2 separate regions of the Homo sapiens genome follow, and region 1 is linked to region 2. The links are contacts of gene promoters, found by promoter capture Hi-C in human tissues and cell types (Jung and others, 2019). All regions are on one chromosome and are shown on one strand. Each heading gives the region's core, a stretch centred on a gene start or on the middle of the fragment in contact. The rest is flanking DNA. Distances are from core to core; before and after follow the strand shown. Region 1 overlaps ARMC3 (armadillo repeat containing 3). Region 2 holds the start of COMMD3-BMI1 (COMMD3-BMI1 readthrough).

Region 1 (3,479 bases), core at 244-2,743, 720 kb after region 2:
TTATGCGACCTCAGTTTTACCCTCTATAAAACGGGGAAAACAATAGCATCTATTCCACAGGGTTGGTTGTTTTGATGATTTACAAGGCTTTGACACGGAGTGTTACTTTTGGAAACATCTTATAATTATATATTTATTTTTGTCTCTCTACCCCACTGAACTATGAGTGCCATACATTCAGATACTATTTGTGTTATAGTTGATTCTTTACCAGTAGGTCTATGTAGAATGTAAGGCTCTAAAAATGATAACCATGTCTTAATCATCATGGTCCACCCAAGACACAGTGACCTGGTGCAGTCATTATATTGTCAGTAATAAATAAATTAATATATACATATACAGGGTTCTAAAACAACACAATTCCTGCCTTCTGGTGCTATGTAGTATTAACTGAGTATGTAGCCTTGCTGGTGTTCGCTGCTTTAAGCACTGGACAGATAATTGACTTCATCTTCCTAATACCTTATGAAGAAAGTACTGTTGCTCCCCTCATTTCTCAGATGAAGCCATGGAAGCCCAGAGATGCCAAGTCCCTTGCTGGGGTGCGCGGCTAGTCGGTCTCAGATCTGGGCTATAATCCAGACCCAGGCAGGCTAAGCCAGCTCTCCTGTTCACTATAAAGTGGCTGAGTAGTCTCCAGATTAGAGATACTTTGTTTTAATAACCTCAAAATCAGGAATCATCAGAGGGCAAATTCAAGAGACAGTTTCCAAGGAACCAACGTAGTCTCTGGTGAGGTGGCAGCAAGGAGCCCTAGGACCAGGCACCCACAGTTCTGCCTCTCCTGCCCCATGGCACGCAGAATAGTTTAGCTGGAAAGAGCCCCCGCCCCAGGGTGATGCCTCCATTCAGTCCCACTGCATTTCACAGCCAGGGAGAGCCCAGAAGTTTGGAAAGATGGATAGATGCACTAGTGCAAAGAGTGCACAGAATAGCTTTTTTCCAATCACCCTCGCCATCTGATACAATAGTGTTACTACCTGAAAAAGGTGACTTCCCAGCAGGACCTACACAGAGATTTTGCATCTACAGAATCTTGAGTGAATTTATCACATTTGATTGGCCCCTATACCAATAGTCCACATCTTTCAGCCTCCTATCTAAACATTTCTTTGCAAGACTTGTGTATTTCACCTTCAATCAAGGTGTGCAATTACAAATAGGATATTCCCCACCCCTCTCCCGCACCACCCTTGGTTGATCTCTTGTTTTCTCCTGCAGGCTCTGGCTGATAGAATTGGCATTGGTTGCTCCCTAGTTCGCGGAGAGTACGGTAGAGCGTGGAATGAAGTCATGCTGCAGAATGACTCTCGGAAGGGAGTGATTGGGGGCCTCCCCGCTCCTGAGATGTACGTGATTGACCTCATGTTCCATCCAGGTGGACTGATGAAGTTGAGAAGTCGAGAGGCTGATCTTTACAGATTCATTTAAGCCATCAGACGAACACAAGAGAGGCTCAAACAAGAAATTCACTGTGTACACTCTCTAAGACATTCTCCAAATTGATTTTATCTCTTTAAATAAAAACTTTAAATAAAAGTATTAGAAATGTTTTCTCTGCGTAGAAATTAGGAAGCTTGGAGTGAACTTTGCTGTGCTTCTGATTTCAGGCTTTTGGCAAGAGTTCTGTCTTATTAGGTCATTTTCCGCTCACTGACCCTCACATAAAGCTGATTGTTGTCGAAATTCATCCAGCCCACTGTGTCCTGAGGAGCGTCTCTGTCATTTAGGAATCACATGTAGCACTCAGCTGCTGCACCCAGGACAACACTGTGGCCTCATGACTGTCATCTTTCATGCCCAGAATGCTTCAGGCATGCTCAGTTAAGCAAACTAAGTGAATTTTTAGTATTTGCAATCACCTTGTCTCAGTTTCATTTAAGATTTTGATAGTTTAGATAGAATAAACACAGATCTGAGTGTTACAAATTCCTTTCTAAAAATTTTTGTTTCTATTTTTAAAAATTCATCATTAAAAACACTTTAATATAGTGAATTAAAAATATTTCTAAAGTATATTTCCATAAAATGGTTTTGGTTTCATCTTGTCTGTGTTAGCTTGGAAACATACCTTCAGCTAAAAACAATTCTGATTTGCTCTTCCACATTTTAATGCTGGGCCATTAATATATTATTTTCAATTTATAGAACTAAAAAATTTTTATTTTTTGGAAAACTTTGAAGCATAAAGGTAGAGCAAATCTTTGCTGAGGAATTGTGTTTTAGTATTGAGCACAAAATGGGGAGTAAATTCACATTTCAAATGATAAGACAAAAACTACTAATGTGGTTAATCTCGTGAAGTACATATTGCCTAGTCACGCTTAAAGTCCAGTGTTGACCTGTATAGTCATTTTCCTAGAAGACGTTTTAAAGTGAATTTGATTTTAGAAATTAAAGCTAAGATTATTTTGTATTAATTTGTAATTTCAAATAATATAATTCTTTATTTCAGAATAAATTTATTTCAAATGGCGTGGTAATTATATTTATCATAGAATTTTATGAAATTAGAGCGTGGCTTATGGGATACAAACCTATTTGTAGGTTTTTCCTCTGCATTTTAAAGTCTGTTTTGATCCAGAAAGTATTTAAAGTGGATTACAAAGATCCATGGGATATAAGAAGGAAAAAGAAAATAAATGAAATGCAGGCGTAAGTGTAGAAAAGTCCAACAAAGCAGGAATAAGATTTGGATCCAAAGATTAGAATTCAATAAAATGCAGTGCATTTGTTAGAGATGAATGGAAATTTGACTCTATACTCACTGGCAGCCAGTGTGAGGGGAAATGTTATTTATCCATTATGGGATTTACACTAGGATCTGCTAGATAAAAGCACAGACCAGTTTCTCAGGTGGAACAAATATCAGGGGAATTTCTCTTTGGTAGATTCATAGAGATGGCAAAATGTAACCTAGAAAATAACATCGTCAAAAACCAACCTCCTGGTAAGTTCTGAAAAGAAGTTTCACAGGCCAAGGCCCCAACATCAAAGTGGAATTAGGCAAATGTTCTATGCAGAGCTACTAGGATAGGGCCCGGGTATACACCACTTTTTAAAATCTGGTGCATGCCAAAGATTTTTTTTTTTAATCTTTGAGACAATTCTGTACAATGTCTCTTTCAACTAGTTTCTAGATAATTACTGAACAGAGATAGTTTAAATTTAATTCTCATACAGGTTTTCAAAGTTCATTTCTTCTGATTTACTTGGTTTAAATGTAGAGCCATAAAATTTAATAATCAGCCAATTATACAAAGACAATACATTTGCAATGGCAACAAAAGTTATAAAATACATAGAAATAAATTTAACAAGAACTATGCAAGAAAAACTACAGAATTTTAATGAGACTTGAATAAATGGAGATGTCCTTTCCAGGAACAGCACGCTCTTTGATGGGAAATTCAGTAGTAAAAAGATTTCAGTCCCCCATATTAAAATCTAAAATTAGTATAATTTCTATTAGAATC
Region 2 (3,427 bases), core at 263-2,762:
ACTATTCTCTATGTAATCAGGTATCATGAAGTTTTTCAACTGACATTTTACTACTAATGAGAAACAAATTAGGAAGATGAGTGATGGGAAGAAAAGATGAACATGATTAATAGGTGCTTGTTTCATAAAGACTCTAGGGAGACTTTTAAATCCTTCACTGCTACTATATTCTCACCGAGTGAGGAGCCACTGCACGTGCCTTTTAAAGCTTTCAAAGGAGGGCTGAGTAGTTACTCAATCTGTTACTGATGCTTACTCCATTTGCATCCTGTTGTGAAATGAGGTACACTTTATGTATTGGTGCCAAGGTAAATGTCAACTGTATCCATCAAAAATTTTTAAAACAGACATCTAAGTTAGAAAAAGAAAATAATGTTTCACTTTGGGTCTAATGTTGCAAATAATCGCTCCTGAAGACTAAAACATCTTTGTTGTTCCGCATCCCTTCCCTCCACCCTTCAAGAACTTGCATTTTTTAACTTTTCAAGTGCTTTTGATTAAAAATACCTAATCTACTTTGCTTCACGGGTTTTTTAAAGAATCATTCTTGTTCTCTAAACCAACTTCGTAGAAATAGAGAGGAAGTTAAACTTTATACAGTATTTGAATCTTTAAAGGTATGAGCATCCTAAACAGTAACTCACTTCTAATAAAGATCTTGCCATTCCTAACTGTACTTTACTAAGGTAGCTGTTTAATAAAAACGTATTTATGCAGATTCTATAGAGCAACTAAAACGGGACCCATAGATGTGGTGAGTAGCACAAAATGTGTATGGCAGTTGGCTTTATTTGCAGCGGCATATAAAATTGTTAATAATCCTGTCAAATCTGTTCATGAATAATTTATTAATCCGATTGCTGGAGTGCAGTGCATACAGGAACTCTATGTATGCGTGCATGTGTACACACCCCCCATGCAGGAAGGACACTACTGCCGTATTCCAGAAATGACAAAAAAAAAAAAGTAAAAATAAGCAAGAATCACATAATTAGATGTCTTACAGTCTCATAAAAGGGCAGTGCTGCGAGGTTAAGCTGGTGAGCTAAAAAACAAACAAAACAAACAAAAAACCACAAAAGCAAAATCCAGTTGCCTGAGATCGGAGCTTCCCGCAGGATTCGCGCAGAGCGAGGAGCGGGGAGGACGCCGTTTGCGGGAGGCGGGGGCCGGGATCCCGACACCGTCCGCAGTCTCCCCGGGGTCTCTCAGGGAACCGAGCTGGTGGCCGTCCGAGGTAAGCGCCGAACCAAGGAGAAAGCGCCGAGCGCGTCCACAAAACGCCCGAGGCCGCCCTTCTCGCCAAGGCTCGGCAGCTCCCGCGGCCTGCGCTGGACAAGCGAGAGCTGGACGGAAACGGTGGGAGGCCGTAGGCGGCGGCTGGGGGCGCGGGACCCGCGCGCGGGCGCGGAGGCGGGCGGGGAGGCCCCGCAGCCCGCGCCGCCGCCAGCCGCCCCGAGCCGCGTGCGCGCGCGGCCGCATCAGCTGAGCGCGCGGCGCGTGTCACGTGGTGTGCGTGTCGAAGGTCACGGCGCGCTCACAATGGAGCTCTCGGAGTCTGTGCAGAAAGGCTTCCAGATGCTGGCGGATCCCCGCTCCTTCGACTCCAACGCCTTCACGCTTCTCCTCCGGGCGGCATTCCAGAGTCTGCTGGACGCCCAGGCGGACGAGGCCGTGTTAGGTAAGCCGCTCGGCTCGGCTCGGAGCTGGATCCGCCGGGGTGGAGGGGCGCTCGGAGAAGAGGAGCCGGCGGAGCGAGAAGGGGAAAGCCCCGGGAAGAGGAAGTCTCCGGGCTTTGCCCTTCGCTCCGGACGGAGTGTTGGGGACGTGGCTCTGCCAGGACTCGGAGCAGACTCTGAGCATTGTTTTGGCCCCACTTGGCACCTGCATAGAGCCAACTCCACGTTCCTGGCCCGGTTTCCCTCCCAGTCTCTTTGTTCTTTTGTAAAGCCGGTGTTCAAGTCTTGTTTGTGGCCTAAACATCTAAGGTGTTTAGCCTTGTCTGAGGCTGCGGCTGTTTTGACAGTTGGACTTCATCTGGGGAGCTCCCTGCAATTCAAGCTTCCAGGGCTAGGCTAGCAAAGGTTTAAGGGTCTGTTTCCGAAGTAATTACTAGGTCAGACAGTGTTGACATTTGCCAACTTAGAGCATACCTCAAGTTGCTATGATCACTCCAGCGCTCTAGTTCAGCATGTTTACACAGGTTCTACGCCTAGAACCTTAAACTATGATGCACAATACTTTGTTCCGCCCCAGTTACCAGGATGCGAGTGTCTTTTAAGCGATCCGGTCAGTGACTGCGGAGGTGCAGTGTCAGTATGGATTGAAGACATATTTTAAGACCGATCGCTTTTAGATGATTTTCTTAAATATAAATATCCCAACAATTCAAATTTTTGTTTTTTTTCTGTAGTTTCATGAACTAAACACTTGTACAAAAAGTATGAAAGTGGAAGTTCTTAAACGAAAATAGTAACCACCACCTGGGTTAATCTCAAAAAAAAAATGACTGTCAAACCCTGAAAGTACTAATATAATTTTGAAATTTGTATCTTATATTCTGAACTCATGCCCTACCTTCTACCCCCTTGATGTATTTGTTCATGGAGCCGGTTACCCTAAACTCATCATTTTTAGGATGGAAGTTTATTCTAAAATTGACACAATGTAAAATATTTATCTTGTTTTTCCTTTGAATTTACTCCAGTGTTAGAATGACCATTGCATTGTTATATTTTCTTTGGGGGCTATAATATTTTTTAATAGTAAAAATATTAAGGCAAAATAAGTTAATTGAAGCTAGTAATAGTAGAGTTCTTGTTGTGTTCTTTTTATTGTTTTTCACTTGATCTTGTTGCTCATCTCATTTACTTATAATTGACTGTCCTTATAGTTGATGTTTTTAATCTTGTTAAAGGGTTTTTAAACCCAAATTAAAATATCCTTTTTGGAACATGACTGTAAAGAATTTATTATCATAGGCATCACTGGAAGTTAATTTATTTTAGATCATCCAGACTTGAAACATATCGACCCAGTGGTTTTAAAACATTGTCATGCAGCAGCTGCAACTTACATACTAGAGGCAGGAAAGCACCGAGCTGACAAGTCAACTCTAAGGTACAGGATTTATTTAAATATCCATTTATTTTCAAATACTACCTTAATGATTTCAATTTCAGTTTTAAAAATGGAGACAGAACTTTGGCTTTTTTTTTCTTTCTTCTAGCACTTATCTAGAAGACTGTAAATTTGACAGAGAGCGAATAGAACTGTTTTGCACGGAATATCAGGTTACTTACTTTAAAATTTTTAATTAACAGTACTATTTTTCTTTTACTTTGTTTGTAAAGATGTTTTTTTTTCTTTCTTTCTTGCTTTCTTTTTTCTCTCCAGAATAATAAGAATTCCCTAGAAATCCTACTGG

What was found. The method cuts DNA at HindIII sites, captures the fragments that hold promoters and counts their contacts. A contact is called where the count stands out against the background at its distance.
Region 1: a fragment that was not itself captured here is called in contact with the fragment with the promoter of COMMD3-BMI1 in region 2 in 2 of the 25 tissues and cell types used here (hippocampus and mesendoderm cells).

Annotation. Positions count from the first base shown.
Region 1 is chr10:23,036,046-23,039,524 of GRCh38, forward strand. ARMC3 (armadillo repeat containing 3) reads left to right here. Exons shown (of 19, transcript NM_173081.5): 19 at 1,225-2,478. The coding sequence ends at 1,434. All of the region lies in intron 2 of LOC107984215 (a long non-coding RNA gene), which reads right to left. Among named protein-coding and RNA genes, the nearest start is that of MSRB2, 58 kb to the right of the region's middle. The HindIII fragment of the contact is 3,149 bases long and covers 1-3,068 here.
Region 2 is chr10:22,314,876-22,318,302 of GRCh38, forward strand. COMMD3-BMI1 (COMMD3-BMI1 readthrough) reads left to right here and starts at 1,513. Exons shown (of 14, transcript NM_001204062.2): 1 at 1,513-1,681; 2 at 3,009-3,120; 3 at 3,230-3,293; 4 at 3,397-3,427. The coding sequence starts at 1,543. It overlaps COMMD3 (COMM domain containing 3), which reads left to right and starts at 1,513. Exons shown (of 8, transcript NM_012071.4): 1 at 1,513-1,681; 2 at 3,009-3,120; 3 at 3,230-3,293; 4 at 3,397-3,427. The coding sequence starts at 1,543. RefSeq lists a silencer at 1,371-1,490 and an enhancer at 1,761-2,060. The HindIII fragment of the contact is 4,167 bases long and covers 1,135-3,427 here.